Regions from separate parts of the Homo sapiens genome. Here region 1 is linked to region 2. Evidence: promoter capture Hi-C in 16 types of primary human blood cells and fetal thymus (Javierre and others, 2016). All regions are on one chromosome and are shown on one strand. Each heading gives the region's core, a stretch centred on a gene start or on the middle of the fragment in contact. The rest is flanking DNA. Distances are from core to core; before and after follow the strand shown. Region 1 overlaps TSHR (thyroid stimulating hormone receptor). Region 2 holds the start of TSHR (thyroid stimulating hormone receptor).

Region 1 (3,090 bases), core at 490-2,989, 110 kb after region 2:
TGTTCATTTTCCCAAATGTCATAGAAATACCTCACAATAGAAAGTGGTCATTGAATTTGGCTGCATTAGTCATTCTCATTACAAGATGGAATTTGAGGAAACTATTTGAAATATTCCTTATATGTTCTTGACAAGTTGTATTTAGGAATTTCTCTGTTTTCCTTTTTCAGTACTTGAAGCTTTTATTTGAATTACTTTTTGCTTACAAAGTTTAAGACGGAGCTTGAATTTTCAGCTTCATTTAAAATCATGAAGAGAAGTCTTAAGGGAGTATGTCGTCAACCTGTGGAATGTTCCACTAGAGAATTGCGATTTTCTCTTCATCTTTGAAACTACATGTCTAATTCCATGTTATTAGACATTCCATTAAAAATGCTTCTTATTGACTCTAGTGTTCTTTTCTGATGCTCATGTTTTTTTGCTATTTTGAGGAACTCTTCTATTCATTCAGTTGTTTAATAAGAGTCGACAACATGCCAAGCACTCTGAAAGGCACTCAAGATTCAGTGGCCAAAAACAGGCACAGTTCTGCATTTCAGAGAACTTACAGTCTAGTGAGACAACAGAAATATCACCCAAAGAACTGGAAATTTGCACTCTGATAATTAGTGAAAGGAGTTTATAGTTTTATATATATATATATATATATAGTGATATATCACTATATATAATCCCTATATATACACCATATATACATATGTATGGCAGGTTCAATTCAAACTATAGGTCAGTGGTTCTCAACATTGCCTACACATTAGAATCAGCTAAGAAGCTTTTGAAAAATAAAAGTATTTGACTCATCCTTCATAAACTCTGATTTAATTATCCTAGACCAGGTCTTGGACATCTGTGTATTTTAAAGGAAATAGAAGAGTTCCTTTAAAATGGAAGAGTTCCTCAAAATAGCAAAAATAAAATAAAATAAAATAAAAGCAAGCATCAGAAAAGAACACTAGAGTGAATAAGAAGCATTTTTAATGGAATGTCTAGTAACACGGAATTAGACACGTAGTTTCAAAGAAGATGAAGAGAAAACCTCAATTCTGTAGTGGAACATTCCACAGGGTGACACTATATATATATATATATATATATATATCGCTAAATATGCATATGGGAAATTTTAATCAGGGAGTTTGGGGAAAGTTTCTGAAGGAAGTGACAGTTAAATGATAATTTCAGATAAATAGGAGTTAATATACAGGAGGAATTCAGGTATCACAAGATCTGAAAAAAAAAGTAGTAAGTAATTTTAACATAATTTGGCAGAATCCATGAGGGTTGTACATGTTGCATGATCTGGGAAGCGCATAACAAAAAGTTATGTCAAAAATAGTATGTTTGAAGTTTACAACCTTACTAACTTTCTACTTTGTCTTATATTTTTCTGACATTCAGCTACGTATCTATAGATGTGACTCTGCAGCAGCTGGAATCACACTCCTTCTACAATTTGAGTAAAGTGACTCACATGTAAGTACAAGGAAAAGTGCAGCATAGACCTAAGCCACAACCACTCTTGACTGATAATCTTGGGGCTCCAGATGGCAATGGGAGCTGGTTTCTTGATTGTGAGTCAAAACTTCTGTTTATGATTAAATTATTAACCTGTTCTCATTCTCAGTTCATGTTAATTCATCTTCATTACACCTCAATTCCATGGTTGGAAGTTAAAGACAACATTAAAAGTTCTGTTCTTGAACCACTATCTGTTCTATTACTACTGTGTCAGCATATTTTATTGATGTGAATGTCAGTGAGACAATAGGTATTTACTGAGTAACTACTTGATTCTATGGTCTGTGCAAGATTCTACAAAGCTGGCATATTTTCCTTAATTCGGAAAGAGAAGAGTTGCTTGGTGAGATTAGAATAGTAGGGAATTTAATAACCCTAGTTCTGGAGTTGGTCAGAGTTGGATTTGAACACCGGCATCTCTGCCTACTCATTATCTACCCTTGGACAAGTCACATAATCTTTCCTAGTCTCATTTGCAAAATAAGTGTAATAAGAGCTGCAACTTCATGTTTATCATAAATATGGAATTATATAATATCTAGCACCTGAAAACCAGTCAATATACCATTCAAAAATAGAATAATTTTTCTATTTCGCTAGTAGATTACAATCTATAAAAAGTGTTACATAAATAATCACATTGCATTATTTTAAGTAGCTATGTATTACTAATCATGAACTCTATTTTCTTGATGAAGAAACAAAAATACTTATCTACAAATACTTAGTATATCCTAACATTACATTAAACATTGTATGAACATTATTTGTTTGGTTATTATTTACCTCTTAAAACAACCCTGTGAAGTAAATACAATTATTTCCATTATTTATATAAGAAAAACATAAATGCAGAGAGACTAAATATGTTTTCCTTGGTCGCACAGTTACCAAGGGACAGGGCCACAATCTTTATACCATAAATGTATGACTTAAAAATTCTTCCCTATCCACTACATTAAGATGCTTTCAAGAATACTGAGGTCCAAGATATTGCTTACAAGTATGGTAGGCTACCTTACATCAGATCAACTATTGGTCTGAGAATAACTTAAGGAGCTGAATTTTTAAAAAAATGTTTGAAAGTATTAGAGTGTTATGAAGACAGTAAGAACTCAATGGGCAATAAGCAAATCCCAAAAACATCATTTGGTTATTTTCCCTTGAGGTATTTCCTGAATTGTAAGCAAAAGCTTAAGGGCTAAGAAACTGACCAGAGGTTTAGGCATCTATTAGGGCTAGGAAAATAAAACTCTGAGTTCCGGGCTTGCTAAGAAGGATTGTTCCTAGTAAACAATCCAGGATTTTGGTTGAGATCACTAAAGAGCTTCATCCTAGAAGTATGGGAAAACTGTGACTAGATCAGCCCTTGCAAAGACTAAAGCCTAGCTTTGAATCAATAAAAAATAACTCGAGTTTGTGGGGCAAAAAAATCAAGAGAAGAAAATAGACAATAGAAAATGATCCATAGGAAGTTCAAATATTGGTTATCAGACACAGACTTTAAAATAACTAACATGTTCAAAAATTTAAATGGCAAGAGAAAATTTCAGAATAAAACTGAAAATGATA
Region 2 (3,365 bases), core at 22-2,521:
ATGTGGAGGTATCAGAGTTTGTTTATCCATTATCTAGTCGCGAGACACTTGGTTCGTTTAGTGGTTATGAATAAAGCTTCTGTAAAATTTGGAATACACATATTTTAAATGTACGGTTTAATGAATTTTGATAAATGTATACATCCACTTAACCTCCAGCCTAATTACGATATGGAAACCCTGTGTGTTCCCTCCTGTCTTTTTCTAGTCAATCTTTCCTAACCTTTATTCTGATTCCCATAACCACAACTTTTTCCTTCCTGTCCTAGCCAAGTTCATATAAAAGGAATTATGCAGTATAGAAGGAATTGACATTCCTTTTATCCCAAGAGGAATAAGTGATTGAAGACTTTTAAGAAGGAAATAGGCACAATCTGATTTATGTTTGTAATGATCTTTTTGGCTACTGTGCGAAGAATGGTGAGTATGCCACTTAAGTATTATTTTTCTTCCCATCTTCCAGGGGGAATATGACTCAATGAAATTCTTGGGTCGACCAGAATTTCCATACTGGACCCATTATTAAGGGAACCTGGAATTATTTCTGCCATTCCCGATTCTTCCCAGCAGATGGCCCCAAAGTTCAGTTCCTGAATTGCCTCGCGGAGCCGCGGGCTGCAACGTGAGGCGGCCGCTGCCAGTCGACTCAACCACCGGAGTGGCCCCTGCAGTTGGATAGCAACGAGAATCCTCCAGGGGTGCAGGGCGACGGCTTCGGCCGCACCGCGGGCTAGCCAGGGCTGCGTGCCCGCCTCTGACCCTCAGCAGAGGTGTCTCTGGCCAGGAGGAGCTGAAGTTCTGCAGGACATTGGTCCGCCCGCGGACAGTCCACTCCGCGGGGACTTTCTCTGGATAAGGAGTGCGTGCGAGTGGCTCCCAGGCAGACAGGGTGTCTAGAAGGCTACACGCTAGGGAAGGTGGCTCCTTGGATTTAAAGAGGAGGAAAGGAGGGGGCATCTAAACTAGGCTTTGGAGAGAACTAATGGGAGGGGCGCCCGGGGTGGGGGGGCGGGCTGGAAAACAGAGGGGACAGCCAGGACTGGTGTTGGGTGTCAGGGAACAGACGGAGCGGACTGCGTGGGTCCAGCCAAGGAAAGTGAAGCAAGCAGACTTGTTTGGGTCAAGGTTGCCTAGGGAAGCGGAGCACTTAAGTGCCTCTTTTTCCCCTTCTCCAGCCTCCTCCACAGTGGTGAGGTCACAGCCCCTTGGAGCCCTCCCTCTTCCCACCCCTCCCGCTCCCGGGTCTCCTTTGGCCTGGGGTAACCCGAGGTGCAGAGCTGAGAATGAGGCGATTTCGGAGGATGGAGAAATAGCCCCGAGTCCCGTGGAAAATGAGGCCGGCGGACTTGCTGCAGCTGGTGCTGCTGCTCGACCTGCCCAGGGACCTGGGCGGAATGGGGTGTTCGTCTCCACCCTGCGAGTGCCATCAGGAGGAGGACTTCAGAGTCACCTGCAAGGATATTCAACGCATCCCCAGCTTACCGCCCAGTACGCAGACTCTGTGAGTACCCGGGAGAGATCAGGGTAGGACCCAGAGATCAAGGGCATCTGCAGAGGTGGCCCGAAGTGCACAAAAGCAGCTCAATAACAGCCCGAAGTAGTGTGTGAGTGTGTGTATGTGTGAGTGAATGTCTGTGTGTGTAGATGTGTGTGTGTGCTAAAAACTTAATCGCCCACACTTGGGAAGGTATCATTGTTGACATCCTCATTCCCAACACAGGAAAATGTTACAAAACTTTGGTGTACAATGACCGTGAGAGCTGTTCTTTCCAACAAGCTGCTATTCAGCACTTTGCCTAACCCTGGTTGAATCTGTTTTATTTGAATTAATAAGGATAATGGCATCTCAGGAACTGACCTTTTTGATCTTACCTTGGGTAATAAAAAATTGCAAAAATATGTATTTCTCCTTTTTGTTTCTCTAGATGGGAGGTTATCTTAGCAGTTCTGCTGATTCATCAAATTGTTGACAAAGGTTTAAGCAGGGGCCCTTTTTAAAATGAACTGTCTATACAGTATCTGTAAGTTACTTACTCAAATGTGAACTGCCAGTGAAATAGTACGTCCAGAACCCTGCTTTGTGATAGAGGTATAAAGAAATGAAATTTCATAAAAGTATAGTACATTTATCTGCATGTTAAATGTTACCAGATTAGAAACCTGATGTTAAATAAGATTATACACACACAACCTGTTTCTTAACAGCAATTTAAATCAGTGATCATTGAAATTGTAGACAAAACCAAGGGAATAAAGTCTGTCTTGATTAGTTAAAAAGAGAACAGAAAGAAAGGACAGTAAAACAACCTAGGCTGGTTAAATCCAGTTAAGATAAAAAAAAATGCAGGTTATTAAAGAAAATGTTGATAGATGAAAAGAAATGGGAAAGTTGCACCTCTAGATTTTCTCAAGAATTTAGCTCATGAAGACTATTTAACAGTAGATGAATATTTGAGCACAGAGATATATTTCTGTGCTCAGAGATATCCTAGTGTCTTAGCACACCTGAATTAATTAGTTCAATAACCTCCAAACAGTGTGGTAGTCATTCTCCATGCTGCCACCACAGAATAAGATGTGTAAAAGGTGTAATGGCCTCTTGATTACACCTCTACATAGGTTGCTTGTCACCTCTAGAATAAAATTCTTTTGTGCAGCCTACCAGATCTTTCAAGACCTAGTCAAGTCTTTCCAACCTCATTGCTCCTCATTTCTCTAACTTCCCCCTCCTGCTGAGAACTTCTGGCACTTCCCCAAAGGTCCCTGCTGTTACAGCTGCCCTTGCCTTTCTTCCCACTTTCTGGCCCCTCTGCCTGAAGCACATTTCACCCATTTCTTCACCCAGCTAATGCCTACTCCCAGATCCAGATCCTGGATCAACCCTGCAGGAAGCTTCTCCTGACCCATGACCTTCAGGCTGGGTAAGCTATACCCCCCTTCCCAACAGCGTTCTCTGCATGAACCTAACCCTAGCCCTTAGACATTGTCTACTTTCTTGTAACTTGTTATTTATTTGCATGCCCACTCAAGCAGGACACAAGCTTCTCTAACATAGGGAACTGCCATTCAACCCCGAATTCCTGAAACCCTGGAACTACTTAGACACTCAGAAAAAACAAAAAAAAAAAAACTTAAGTGAATAAATAAACAAATGAATATGCCAGGTCTCTGAATGTCCACTCTATGTTGGGGAGAAAGAAATCCAAAGACATCACTTCTTCAGAGACTTCTTTAACAGTGGCAGAAATTCAAGTCATTGAAGAGAGATGTGGCTCTGACAGTGAAAAGGAACTCGTAGACATCCTGTTTAAAATTCCACCAAAAGTTGAGAAAGAAAGGGTAATGGAGAATGAGCAATGGAACAG

What was found. Contacts are between HindIII fragments. The CHiCAGO score rates a contact against its expected background, and 5 or more counts as called.
Region 1: a fragment that was not itself captured here is called in contact with the fragment with the promoter of TSHR in region 2 in 1 of 17 cell types (fetal thymus); the score reaches 10.8 in fetal thymus.

Annotation. Positions count from the first base shown.
Region 1 is chr14:81,066,856-81,069,945 of GRCh38, forward strand. It overlaps TSHR (thyroid stimulating hormone receptor), which reads left to right. Exons shown (of 10, transcript NM_000369.5): 3 at 1,399-1,473. The region is part of intron 7 of TSHR-AS1 (TSHR antisense RNA 1); the gene reads right to left. Among named protein-coding and RNA genes, the nearest start is that of TSHR-AS1, 100 kb to the right of the region's middle. The HindIII fragment of the contact is 1,939 bases long and covers 771-2,709 here.
Region 2 is chr14:80,954,350-80,957,714 of GRCh38, forward strand. TSHR (thyroid stimulating hormone receptor) reads left to right here and starts at 1,272. Exons shown (of 10, transcript NM_000369.5): 1 at 1,272-1,501. The coding sequence starts at 1,332. It also overlaps a transcript of CEP128 not described here. The HindIII fragment of the contact is 2,816 bases long and covers 75-2,890 here.